Regions from separate parts of the Homo sapiens genome. Here region 2 is linked to region 1. Evidence: promoter capture Hi-C in human tissues and cell types (Jung and others, 2019). All regions are on one chromosome and are shown on one strand. Each heading gives the region's core, a stretch centred on a gene start or on the middle of the fragment in contact. The rest is flanking DNA. Distances are from core to core; before and after follow the strand shown. Region 1 holds the start of SAP25 (Sin3A associated protein 25). Region 2 holds the start of ALKBH4 (alkB homolog 4, lysine demethylase).

Region 1 (6,417 bases), core at 3,879-6,378:
CCCGGGGAAGCTGAGCTGACGTCCAGATGGGCCCTCTCAGGGAGGCTCGCTTAGACCGTGGACCAGAATCATGTGGAGAGAGGAGCAGGGAGGTTTCTCCCGGGGAATGACTTGAGCCACCCAGGGGAGAGGCTGTGCTGGGCCCAGGGTGACTGGCCAGCTGGAGCCAAGGGTGAGGGAGTGAGCACGAGGCCACAGCCCTGAGCATGTTCCTGACTTTTCCCTTGCCCACCTGTTCCAGAGCTGGGGGACCTCCCTCTGGTCCGCCTGGATTTCTCCTGTAACCGCGTCTCCCGAATCCCAGTCTCCTTCTGCCGCCTGAGGCACCTGCAGGTCATTCTGCTGGACAGCAACCCTCTGCAGAGTCCACCTGCCCAGGTGAGGCGGGTGCCTGGGGGGCCACGAGGACAGGGGTGTGGCTAGGCAGGAGTGGGGTTGGTCCCCTTGGATAGCTGAGCAGGATCCGGGGAGCTGCCCTCCCTGCCAACTCCCTGGCGTGTGCTGCCCCGCACACAGGTCTGCCTGAAGGGGAAACTTCACATCTTCAAGTATTTGTCCACAGAGGCCGGGCAGCGTGGGTCGGCCCTGGGGGACCTGGCCCCTTCTCGGCCCCCGAGTTTCAGTCCCTGGTAAGTCCTAGGTGGGGAGGAAGGAAGCCCTGGGATACTGAATGCCCCTTCCCGGCCCCAGGCACCCCCTGCTTTCTGGCAGGAGGATGGGGGGCTGTTGTCCAGCATCAGGCTGACCAGATCCGCCTGGCTGGCCCCAGCCCTGCAGAGGATCTATTTCCGGGACATCGGTACGATGGTGGGCTGGACTCAGGCTTCCACAGCGTTGATAGTGGCAGCAAGAGGTGGTCTGGAAATGAGGTAAGGGCGTCCTGTCCATGGGTGATTGAGGGTGTCAGCCCTGGGAGAGCACCTCTGAACTGGGGACCTCCAAATTGCAGGGTGCCAGGCAGAGGCTGGAGCTGTCCTCTTCCTTCCCTCTGCCCAGCATCCCAGGGAAGGGCTGGCTCAGCAGAGACCCTGAGCTTAGTCCCACACAGGACCCCCCAGGTCCTGAGCCCCCATGTACAGAGAGGCCATCTCCCATCTCTGCCTCTGCCTTTACAGTCAACAGATGAATTTTCAGAGCTGTCATTCCGGATCTCAGAGCTGGCCCGGGAGCCCCGGGGACCCAGAGAACGCAAGGAGGATGGCTCAGGTGAGTAGCAGGGCTGGCCGGGAGCTGGGCTGGACCAGGGCCTGGGTCCCCGCTCACTTGCTGACATGCTGGCCTCCCCAGCGGACGGAGACCCTGTGCAGATTGACTTCATCGACAGCCATGTCCCCGGGGAGGATGAAGAGCGAGGCACTGTGGAGGTGAGAGCCCAGCTATGCCTCTCCCAAGGGAGGGGAGCTGGAGGAGGGGACAGGGCAGGCGTGGGCACAGGCCTGCCCTCAGCTGCTCTGCTGTTCTCTCCTTAGGAGCAGCGACCACCCGAATTAAGCCCTGGGGCAGGGGACAGGGAGAGGGCACCAAGCAGCAGGTACCCCAAGCCCCCAAACTGACGCCACTGCCCGATCCTCCCACCCCCCAACCGCCTCCTTCCCTGACCCCGGGGTCTGCCCCTCTTGCCCTGTCTTGGTCCCTCAGGCGGGAGGAGCCGGCAGGGGAGGAGCGGCGGCGCCCGGACACCTTGCAGCTGTGGCAGGAGCGGGAACGGCGGCAGCAGCAGCAGAGCGGGGCGTGGGGGGCCCCGAGGAAGGATAGGTGGGACCCAGGGCCGCCCGGGGCTGTTGCTGGACACTGAGCCCTGGAAATGGGGCCACCGAGCCCCGCTGAGCCGTTCTGCCTTGGGGCTAGCTGACCCCACCTCTCCTTGTTCCAGCCTCTTGAAGCCAGGGCTCAGGGCTGTTGTGGGAGGGGCCGCCGCCGTGTCCACTCAAGCCATGCACAAGTAGGTTTCCTGCCAGCATCCCCTCCCCACTCCTCTTCCTATGACCATCATCCCTCTAATTCCCTTCTGTCTCTCCTCAGCGGCTCGCCTAAGTCCAGTGCCTCCCAAGCAGGGGCTGCAGCGGGGCAGGGAGCCCCCGCCCCTGCCCCTGCCTCCCAAGAGCCCCTTCCCATAGCTGGACCAGGTGGGACAGGGATTTTGGGAGGAGGATGGGGCCTGTGTTGGTGAGGGCTGGTTGGGAGAGAGGGACACAGAGGGGATGCCTGTCTCACCTGCCCCTGTCGCTGTGTCCCTGGTTCCGGCCCCAGCGACAGCACCTGCTCCACGGCCACTTGGCTCCATTCAGAGACCAAACAGCTTCCTCTTCCGTTCCTCCTCTCAGAGTGGCTCAGGTGGGTGTCCTGCCCTCCCCAGTGCTGACCCAGTGCTTGCCAGCACCAACGGCTACATCACCCTTCTGCCCTGGGAGCCCTCTGGGTCTGTTGTACCTTTTGTACCTTTGCGTTGAAAATCCCACAAGCAAGCCGGGTGTGGTGGCTCACACCTGTAATCGCAGCACTTTAGGAGGCCCAGGTGGGAGGATCGCTTGAGCCCAGGAATTCAAGACCAGCCTGGGCAACATAGCGAGACCCCATCTCCATGAAATAAAAAAAAATCCCACAAGCAGAGAGGCAGGAGGTGTAGGTGCCAGGCCACTGGGACCCAGCTACAGAGTCAGTGGTGAGCAGTGGAGGCAGCCCCATGCCCCCCTTTTTCTCCTAGGCCCTTCCTCACCAGACTCTGTCCTGAGACCTCGGCGGTACCCCCAGGTTCCAGATGAGAAGGACTTAATGACTCAGCTGCGCCAGGTGAGCAGAGGCGGGAGCTGCGTGGGCAGGGGCCTGGGCCGGGCACCTCCTTGTGTTGCTGTCCTTGGGACCAGCCTCCCTCCACATCCTCTGTGCCCACTCTGGCACCTCCCCTGAGGACAGGAAGGGACAGGCACAAGTTCCCTGCTAGCCCTGAGCCCCCCACTCTCCCTGCCTCCCAGACGCCTCTCCTTCCCTGACCCCTGCTCTATGTGGTCTACACTGCCAGGTCCTTGAGTCCCGGCTGCAGCGGCCCCTGCCTGAGGACCTGGCCGAGGCTCTGGCCAGTGGGGTCATCCTGTGCCAGCTGGCCAACCAGCTACGGCCGCGCTCCGTGCCCTTCATCCATGTGCCCTCCCCTGCTGTGGTCAGTTGGGGCTGGGGAAGAGGTGGGGGATGGGCCGGGGCGCCTGTGGCCTCTCCCTTACCACATTTTCTTCTTTCACCCACCCCAGCCAAAACTCAGTGCCCTCAAGGCTCGGAAGAATGTGGAGAGTTTTCTAGAAGCCTGTCGAAAAATGGGGGTGCCTGAGGTATGGGGGCTGCTTTCTAAAGAGTGGTGGCATGCCGGACTCAGCCGAGCATGTGGCATGGATGGTGGGCTTCCATTTGCAGCGGATGTCTGCTCTCAGATGAAGGCACAGGCTGCCCCTGCCCTGCCCAGCATGCCCCCTGCCCTGCATGCCCCCTGCCCTGCATGTCACCTGTCCTACACATCCCCTGCCCTGCAGGCCCCATCTTGTCCTGCATGTCACCTGTCCTGCACATGCCCTGCCCTGCACTCCTCCTGCACTGCACTCCCCCTGCCCAGCACGTCAGCATGTGGGCGTGGTTCTGGCCCCAGCACGTGAGGGCAGGGGTGGGAGGGACTGTCCTGCTGCTGCTGCTGACGTCTGTCCCTTGTCCTTGTCCACCTGCTCTCCTCTCCCCCAGGCTGACCTGTGCTCGCCCTCGGATCTCCTCCAGGGCACTGCCCGGGGGCTGCGGACCGCGCTGGAGGCCGTGAAGCGGGTGGGGGGCAAGGCCCTACCGCCCCTCTGGCCCCCCTCTGGTCTGGGCGGCTTCGTCGTCTTCTACGTGGTCCTCATGCTGCTGCTCTATGTCACCTACACTCGGCTCCTGGGTTCCTAGGCCCCAAAATCGGCCCTCCCTCACCCCTTTCCCTTCCTCTCTATTTATAAGGTCCCTGCTCCACCCGACCCCACCTGCGGTGCCTTCAGCCCCAACCAAAGACACTAGTGCACCCCCTTCACAGACACTGACCTCAGAGGCCCCACTCTGGTGCCCCCAGACCCTGGGCCCCCAGCCTCTGGCCTCCCTCCAGTAGCCCCACGAGTCCCCACCTCTCAGTGCTGACGGTGCCTTCATGTCCCCGCCGGCCCTGCCCCTGCCCTCTGTACCCCGTGAGGGGTGGCAGGAGCTGGAGTCTCCCCCTTCCTCCTGTGCCCTCCCCTTCCCCCCCCAACAGCTGCTATGGGGGGGCTAAATTATCTCTATTTTGTAGAGAGGATCTATATTTGTAGGGGTTCGGGGCCCAGGCCGGGTCCCTATCTCTGTGTATAAACTGTACAGACCGTGGCCGCCCTGCCTGTGTGTGTGTGTGTGCGCGCGCGCGCGCGTCTGCTCCGCGTGTTGGTGGCTGTGGCCATGGCTCTGTGCCCACCAGCATCTCCCTCCTGAGATGCCGGCCTCTCATGCTCCCGGAGCGTCCGCCAACCCCCCGTGTCACCTCCCTTCTGTTATCGCTGACAGCTTTCTTGCGTCTCATTTGTCGCCGAGCCCCGAGCGCACGGTGATGCTCGGGTCTGCCCCCGACCCCCTGCCACAGGCCGGAAGCCGCAGGGGGCACCGTGGGGAAGCTAACCCGGCCCCTTCCCCCAGGAGTCACTGTGCCAGCCCCACCACATCCTGGAAGAGGAGGGGGCCCCGGGAAGGGGCCTCCCCTACATCGCTGCTGTCGTCCACGCCCTGCTGGACCGGCCTTAGGGGTGAAGGTGGGGGCACAGGGCCCACCCCGCCCGGGACCCCGGGAGCAGAAGACGCGCCTGGGCTCCGCGCTCTCAGAGAAGCACGTGGTGAGGGTGGCCTGGGCCTGGGCACCCTTGGCCTGCCGGCCTGGCTGCCTCTGGGGTCGAGGGTCTGGGTGGAAGGACCGCGGGTGTCGCAGGTGTCGTGTCAGCCGCAATAAACAGAAGCCAGAAGCCCTCTGGGTGGCCCTCAGGTGTAACTGTGTCTGAGAGCACGTGCGTCGCGGGGTTGTTGGGGGGGCCTCTGTTTCCGGAATTCACCGCCCAGTCGCCAGGGGGCGCCCGCGGGAGCCCGGCGGGGGCACGCGCCACGTGGCCGGGAGACGCACAGGGCGCCAGCGTCGCCGCGAGGCCTCTGGGGTGGGTTCGCCAGGAGGGCACGTTCGCGCCGCGCCGCGGAGGGAGGCTGAGAGGGCCGGGCCGGGCGGCGGGGACACGGCGGTACCGTCCTGCGCTCGGGAACGCGGAATGTTGCCCTGGTCGCCGCCGCGGTGGGGCGCGGGCCCGGAGGAGGCGCCCGAGGGACCAGGCCTTCCGGCGGGCAAGGACCAGGGCGAGCCCTGGAGCGCCGGAGCGGACGCCCCCAGGGAGCTGGGGACACCCCCATGGGACAGGTGAGGGGCTCGGACGGAGCCGTGGGGGGACAGCGACTGGGGGCCTCCATGCCTTCACCACGCGCTCTACGGAGGCTTCTCCATTGTCCCTGCTGGAGATTGGGTCCCTCGGTCTCCCTTGCACCAGGCACCCTTGGGCTCCAGGGGAGGGTGCGTGGGGGCGGTGTGGCTGCAGCCTCAGTCCCTGCCCCTCCAGCCCACAGCCCCCATCCCGTAGCCCTTCCTGGATCTGGAGAGAGCAGCTGCTGCTGCCCCACCACCTGCCAGGCCCGGCCACTGAGCAGCCCCCCGGAGCCCCAGGTAGGACAGGCCCTGCTGCCTCTACTACCCCTAAGAGCCTCTCACTGACTGTGAGCCTGTTATAATCCCCAAGCGTCCCCCCAGATCCCCGTTCCCCCCAGGTGGCCTGGGAGGTGGCCCCCTCGAGGATGACTCCACTAGCGCCCTGGGACCCCAAGTATGAAGCCAAAGCAGGACCTCGGCCGGTGTGGGTGAGTTGGGGGCAAACCTGTGGGACTGGCTGGGGTGCTCAGGGAGCTGTGCGGTGGCCTGAGGCTCCAGTGCTCTGTCCTCCTCACCCTAGGGGGCCAACTGTAGCTCAGGAGCCTCGTTCTCAGGCCGGACGCTGTGTCACCCCTCATTCTGGCCGCTGTATGAAGCAGCCTCGGGCAGGGGTCTCAGGCCCGTGGCCCCTGCCACAGGGCACTGGAATGGACAGCAGGCGCCCCCAGATGCAGGTACCTCCCTTGGTCCCCCGGGGGCGCAAGGCTGCCCCAACTCCTCTGGGAACCAGTGCCCAGGGGTGGGAGCCCGCAGCCCGCCACCCTAGTGGTGTTTCCTCCTAGGGTTCCCGGTGGTGTGCTGTGAAGATGTCTTCCTCTCGGACCCTCTGCTGCCCCGGGGGCAGCGTGTTCCCCTGTACCTGTCCAAGGCCCCCCAGCAGGTGAGAGCTCTTTCCCCTCCCTGTCCTTACCCCAGCCTCCAGG
Region 2 (6,417 bases), core at 1-2,500, 1.9 Mb before region 1:
GAGCCTGAGCCCAACAGAGTCCTGGCCCCAGGTATGAAGCTGGTGGGAGGCTCCCACTTACCGTCAGGAAGGGGTTGCCCTCCAGGCTGAGTTCCTCGAGCTTGGGGAACTGGCACAAGGCAGTAACATCCCCCAGCTGGTTGTTGGCGCAGCGGAGGACACGCAGGTGGGACAGGCCCAGGTTGTCCGGCAGCGTCTCCAGGTGGTTGTTAGACAGGTCAAGCTCCTGCAGCTGCGTCAGGCGGCACAGGAGTTTGGGGTCCAGGTGCTCGGAAAGCAGCTCCAATCCTGACAGGCTGGAGTTGGGGGCAGAAGGCTTAGGGGGCGGGCAGGCTTTGCACCCTACACCAATCTGCCCCGGGTACCTCAGAAGGCTTTTTCACCTGACATTTCTCGTACAAGTGTAGCCGCCCCGCCCATCCCCCCGTTACTTTATTTTTAGAGACGGGGTGTCACTCAGTCGCCTAGGCGCGATCATAGCTCACAGCTGCCTCCAACTCCTGGGCTGAGGGATCCTCCCGCCTCAGCCTCTCGAGTAGCTGGGACTAGAAGCGCGCGCCACTACTCCCGACTCCACACCACTTAACAAAAAAAAAAAAAAAAAAAAAAAAAAAAAAAAAAAAGCTGCAACTACTTTAGGACTCGGGGGCATCCTAGCCCCCTCTAGGATGCTCTTCCTGATCCTTCGGGGGCTCGTCTGTGCTTCCCAGGCCCTCTAACGATAGCGGCAGGCTGTGCCCCTAACTGTCCGGGCTCCCTTCAGGGGATGAGGCCCCTCGGGGCTCCCGGCGAGCGGGTGGGGCCACGATCTCCCAACAAGAAGACATTTGGACCACTCTGCCGAACCCAGAGGGCGATAACGGGGACAAGCGGGCCGTTGGGGAGGGTCCCCGCTCTTCTCCCCGACCGCCCGGCCCCGAGGACACAGCCTCACCCGCTGCCCGGCTCTTACTCCAGACTCCGGATCTTCCCCAGCCGGTCGCTCTTGGGGCGCCCGCGCTGCATTAGCAGCCGCGCCGAGAGGGGGCCCATGGCGAGGAGGCGCAGCCCGCGCTGACCCAGTCGGCCACCCCGGCGTGTGGCGTCGCCCTGCGTCTCCTGGAGCCCGGCACTGGCGTCCGCGGTAACTGAGCCCAGGAGGCGGCGCCGCGCGAGCCCGTGGGCGTTAACGACCGGAAGGAAGCGGAACCCAGGCCTCGTGCCCCCGCCCGGCGCGGACTACAACTCCCAGCGGCCCCCACGGCCGCGCCTGCGCACTGGCCACGCGGACGGCGCGATGGCGGCGGCTGCCGCCGAGACCCCCGAAGTCCTTCGGGAATGCGGTTGCAAGGGCATCCGGACCTGTCTGATCTGCGAGCGGCAGCGCGGCAGTGACCCGCCCTGGGAGCTGCCCCCAGCGGTAAGGGGTGGGAGAGGGGCCGCGCCCACAAACGTCGCTCTGCATCTGGGGAAACTGAGGTCCAGCTTGGCCATGATAGGGGCCGGGATCGAAGCCTGTGAGGGACCCTTACGGTAGGGGTGATGCAGGGTGAGGAGATGAGGGCTTTAAGGAGCGGGCTTGGGAGTGGGGAAGGAGCTGGAACGTGGGTGGGTTCGATTACAGGTCACCTCGGGGACTCTGGGGGGATCTGCCTGTAAACCTCGACGTAGCCTCTCGGGTCTGGCGCTGGGAGCTTCACGGGCCTGCAGGGAGATGACACGGAAAGGGTCGATCGAGGGTGCTGAATACCAGTCCAACGGTGCCTGAAGGCCGTGGACTGCAATGGGCAAGGAGACAGTGAATTCCAGTTAACTAACGAAAAGGAACTCAAGGATCGCTGCAACCCAGGAGCTGGAGGCTGCAGTGAGCTATGATCGAGCCACCTCACTTCAGCCTGGGCGACAGAGCGAGACTCTGTCTCACAAAAAGAAAATAAATAAAAAAAGAAAAAGAACTCAGCGCCTTTGGGCTGGCATGGAAGGACTGTGGTTGGTTGCAAGGGCATTCCAACCCAGAAAACTGCGTGGGGTAGGAAGGTGGATTGGTGATGCCTCAGGTGAGAGAGATGAGGCTGGAGAGGTTGTGGGGGGGGGGAGGTCTGATCACAGATGCTCCCCGGTGCATCAGCTGAGCAGGCTGGACTTGTCCCAAAGGCCCTGGAGAGCTCTTGAAGGGTTTTAAAGGAGTGATGAAGTCAAATGTGAATTTTAGAAAGATCCTGGGAAGGGAACGGGCAGATATGAAGGTGTGGAGGCTGGTAAGCCAGTGAAGACTGCCCCAACGTCCATGGTAAAAGTGCCCAAGGTCCTATGGAAACAGCATGGCATGCCTCATGAATTAAACATAGAATTACCCATGATCCGCAATCCTGCTTCTGGGTATATATCCAAAGGAACTAAAAGCAGGGTCTGGAAGAGATATTTGCACACCCATGTTCATATTCACGACATTATTCATGACAGCCCAAAGATGGAAGCAAACCAAGCATCTATCAAGATACCTGGGCCGGGTTCAGTGGCTCACGCCTGTAATCCCAGCACTTTGGGAGGCTGAGGTGGGCAGATCACCTGAGGTCAGGAGTTTGAGACCTGCCTGGCTAACATGGCGAAACCCTGCCTCTACTAAAATTACAAAAACTTGCCGGGCTTGGTGAGGCACATCTGTAATCCCAGCTACTCGGGAGGCTGAGGCAGGAGAATCGCTTGAACCCAGGAGGCAGAGGTTGCAGTGAGCCAAGATCGCACCACTGCACTCCAGCTCAGGTGACAGAGCAAGACTCCTTCTCAAAAAAAAAAAAAAAAAAAAAAAAAGAGATGACTTGATCCACAAAATGTGGTGCATACACATAGTAGAATACTATTCAGCCTTAAAAAGGAAGGACAGGCCGGGCACAGTGGCTCACACCTGTAATTCCAGCACTTTGGGAGACCGAGGCAGGCAGATTGCCAGAGCCCAGGAGTTTGAGACCAGCATGGGCAACATGGTGAAATCCCACCTCTACAAAAAAATTAACCATACATGGTGACACGTACCTGTAGTCCCAGCTACCCAGGAGGCTGAGGTGGGAGGGTTGCTTGAGCCTGGGAGGTCAAGGCTGCAGTGAGCTGTGATCACGCCACTGCACTCCAGCTTGGGCAACATAGTGAGACCCTGTCTCAAAAAAAAAAAAAAAAAAAAGGACATTTTGACATATGTTACAGCATGGACGAACCTTGGGGACACGATGCTAAGTTAAGGAAGCAGTCACAGAAGACAAATACTGCATGATTCCTGTTGTGTGAGCTACGTAGGGTAGTCACAGGGACAGAAAGTAGAAGGGTTGTTGCCAAGGGCTCAGGAAGGGGAGATGGGGACCTGTTGTTTAATAGGGAAAGAGTTTCAGTTTTGCAAGATGAAAAAGTTCTGAATGGTGGTGACGGCTGTACAACAATATGAATGAACTTAAGAGTTTTAATTTGTGGAAGGGGCCAGGTGCGGTGGCTCATGCCTATAATCCCAGCCCTTTGGGAGGCTGAGGCAGGAGGCTCGCCTGAGTCTAGGAGTTTGAGACCAGCTTGGACAACATAGCAAGACCCTGTCTCTACAAAAAATTTAAAAATTAGCTAGGTGTGGTGGTGTGTGCTTGTAGTCCCAGTTACTTGGGAGGCTGAGGTGGGAGGATTGCCTGAGCCCAGGAGGTCAAGGCTGCAGTGAGCTGTGAGCGCCACTACACTCCAGCCTGAGTGACAGAGCGAGACCCTGCCTCAAACAAAAAAAAAGAAAAGAAAAAAATTGCGGAAAGTCTGACCCGTTCCAGTGGCCATGTGGAGGTGACATCTTCCCAACCCGATGGCTATGGAACAAGGAGAGTGAGGTATCCAGGATCTCAGGGCACTGGGGCAGTTCCTCACTGGCTTTCCAGCCTCCACCCTTCATATCTGCCCCTCCCCCCTCCAGATCTTTCTAAAATTCACATTTGACCTCGTCACTCCTTTAAAACCCTTCAAGAGCGCTCCATGGCCTTTCGGACAAGTCCAGCCTGCTCAGCCGACACACGGGGGACTCCCAGTTTTAATGTTTCCCGTGGGAGGGCCCCAGGAGCAGGAGGAGATAGTGCCAATCTCAGGAGGGGTCTGAGCTGGAGTCGGTGGCTGGAAGTAAAGCATTGGAAGGGGCTGAGGTCCCTGGAGGGAAGAACAGAGAAAGACAGCGGCCCACAGTGAGTGGCAGCCCAGGGTGTGAGGAGCCTGGAGATGGAAGAGGAAGAGGAGACAGGCCACAGAGCCCAGGGCTGAGTTCTGGTGGCCTCCGAAGTCCTCACTGGGTGACTCCGGCCAGAACCTCCACACCTCCTGCCCATGATAGTTATGGTACCTTCCTCTTGGGGCTGTCCTGGGGATGAAACTAGATAATCCATGTAAAATGTTCAGTGCCACAGATGCAAATACTGGCTATTTCATTGGCGAAACTCTTTTTTAAAAATTTACTATTGGCTGGGCATGGTGGTTCACGCCTGTAATCCCAGCACTTTGGGAGGCCAAGGCGGGAGGATCACAAGGTCAGGAGTTCAAGACCATCCTGGTCAACATGGTGAAACCTCGTCTCTACTAAAATACAAGAAAAAAATTAGCTGGGCATGGTGGCGCGCACCTGTAGTCCCAGCTACTCGGGAGGTTGAGGCAGGAGAATCGCTTGAACCCAGGAGGTAGAGGTTGCAGTGAGCCGAGATCGTGCCACTGCACTCCAGTTCTGGTGACAGAGCGAGACTCCATCTCAAACAAACAAACAAACAAACAAAAAGTATTATTATTATTTTCAAGATGGGGTCTCACTGTGTCACCCAGGCTGGTGTCCACTAGCACGATCTTGGCTCACTGCAATCTCCACCTCCCGGGTTCAAGGGATTCTCCTGCCTCAGCCACCTGAGTAGCTGGGATTACAGGCATGCACCACGACGCCCGGCTAGTTTTTGTATTTTTAATAGAGACGGGGTTTTGCCATGTTGGCCAGGCTGGTCTTGAACTCCTGACCCCAGGTGATCAGTCCACCTTGGCCTCCCAAAGTGTTGGGATTACAGGTGTGAGCCACCGTGCCTGGCCTGGTTTCTAGACTTTCTTTAGCATGGGGGAACCCTTAGAGTACCGCCAGGCCTCGGGGTTGGTGGCAGAGCAGAGAGGGACATGGGGTGGGAGTTGAGTGACAGCCCAGGGTATGAGGATTGAGGGGTGATGCTGGGTCTGGAAAGGTGCCCTGAGGACAAGAGTGAGGAGAAGGGAGGTTGGGACACTGAGGAGCTCAACTGAACGCTCAGCTCTGTAGGGAAGTTGGCTGCCCTCCTAGGTGACCCTCACGCTGGTGATAGGCACGGGCCAACCCCTGGGACACCGGGGTGGCATCAGCAAAGACCTAAAGAGATTAGGGTGCACAGATTCAAGGTAGTCAGGCAGTTTGGGGCCTCCTGGAAGCAGCTGAGGAGATGGGAGTGCAGGAGGTGCTGTCCAGCCTCGGGCTGGTTCCTTAACTTTGCTGAGCCTCCTTTGTAAAATGGAGAAGGAAAAACATGTTGTACAAACCCTTCTCTTTTACAGGGGAGGAAAGTGAGAAAGGAAACCAATCAAATTCGTGTTAGCTCAAGAGGGCTGCGGGCCTTCCCCGGTCAGCCTGGGGCAGAGGCTCTGCCTGCACCTCCCCCTAGACTCCAGCTGCCTTCCACAGTGTCCTGAGGGGAGGAATGAGCCATCAGAGGGTCTCCTGAGGGCACACAAGTGCCAGGGGCTGCCATGGCTCCAGGATGTGTCTTTCCTTTTTTTTTTTTCTTTTTTTTTTTTTGAGACAGGGTCTTGCTTTGTTGTCCAGGCTGGAGTGCAGTAGCGCGACCATGGCTCACTGTAGCCTCAACCTCCTGGGCTCAAATGATCCTCCCGCCTCAGCCTCCTGAGTAGCTGAAATGACAAGTGCGCTCTGCCACACCCGGCTAATTTTTATTTAAACTTTTTTTTTTTTTTTGAGTCTCACTCTGTCGCCCAGGCTGGAGTGCAGTGGTGCCATCTTGGCTCACTGCAACCTCTGCCTTCTGGGTTTAAGCAATTCTCCAGCTTCAGCCTCCTGAGTAGCTGGGATTACAGGCACCTGCCACCATGCCTGGCTAATTTTTGTATTTTTAGTAGAGATGGGGTTTCACCATGTTGGCCAGGCTGGTCTTGAACTCCTGACCTCAGGTGATCCACCCACCTCGGCCTCCCAAAGTGCTGGAATTACAGGCGTGAGCCACCGCACCTGGCCTGTTTTAACTTTTCGTAGGGACCGGGTCTCGCTGTGTTGCCCAGCCTGTGGACTTGTGTTTCTTTTGCAGAAAACATACCGTTTCATTTACTGCTCCGACACCGGCTGGGCCGTGGGCACAGAGGAGTCTGACTTTGAGGGCTGGGCCTTCCCCTTCCCAGGAGTGATGCTGATCG

What was found. The method cuts DNA at HindIII sites, captures the fragments that hold promoters and counts their contacts. A contact is called where the count stands out against the background at its distance.
Region 2: a contact is called between the fragment with the promoter of ALKBH4 here and the fragment with the promoter of SAP25 in region 1, in 1 of the 25 tissues and cell types used here (dorsolateral prefrontal cortex).

Annotation. Positions count from the first base shown.
Region 1 is chr7:100,572,611-100,579,027 of GRCh38, reverse strand. SAP25 (Sin3A associated protein 25) reads left to right here and starts at 5,128. Exons shown (of 6, transcript NM_001348680.2): 1 at 5,128-5,431; 2 at 5,628-5,731; 3 at 5,816-5,922; 4 at 6,015-6,168; 5 at 6,277-6,374. The coding sequence starts at 5,286. It overlaps LRCH4 (leucine rich repeats and calponin homology domain containing 4), which reads left to right. Exons shown (of 18, transcript NM_002319.5): 5 at 242-378; 6 at 517-629; 7 at 770-869; 8 at 1,116-1,206; 9 at 1,288-1,364; 10 at 1,470-1,531; 11 at 1,639-1,755; 12 at 1,874-1,942; 13 at 2,023-2,126; 14 at 2,251-2,334; 15 at 2,705-2,790; 16 at 3,020-3,157; 17 at 3,246-3,323; 18 at 3,724-5,017. The coding sequence ends at 3,921. RefSeq lists enhancers at 3,156-3,709, 3,710-4,264. The HindIII fragment of the contact is 26,041 bases long and covers 1-6,417 here.
Region 2 is chr7:102,459,696-102,466,112 of GRCh38, reverse strand. ALKBH4 (alkB homolog 4, lysine demethylase) reads left to right here and starts at 1,250. Exons shown (of 3, transcript NM_017621.4): 1 at 1,250-1,399; 2 at 6,312-6,417. The coding sequence starts at 1,277. It overlaps LRWD1 (leucine rich repeats and WD repeat domain containing 1), which reads right to left and starts at 1,129. Exons shown (of 15, transcript NM_152892.3): 1 at 953-1,129; 2 at 62-296. The coding sequence starts at 1,032. MIR5090 (microRNA 5090) reads right to left here and starts at 371; the gene lies at 287-371. RefSeq lists enhancers at 1-201, 479-578, 202-728, 858-1,507 and a silencer at 919-1,348. The HindIII fragment of the contact is 23,818 bases long and covers 1-6,417 here.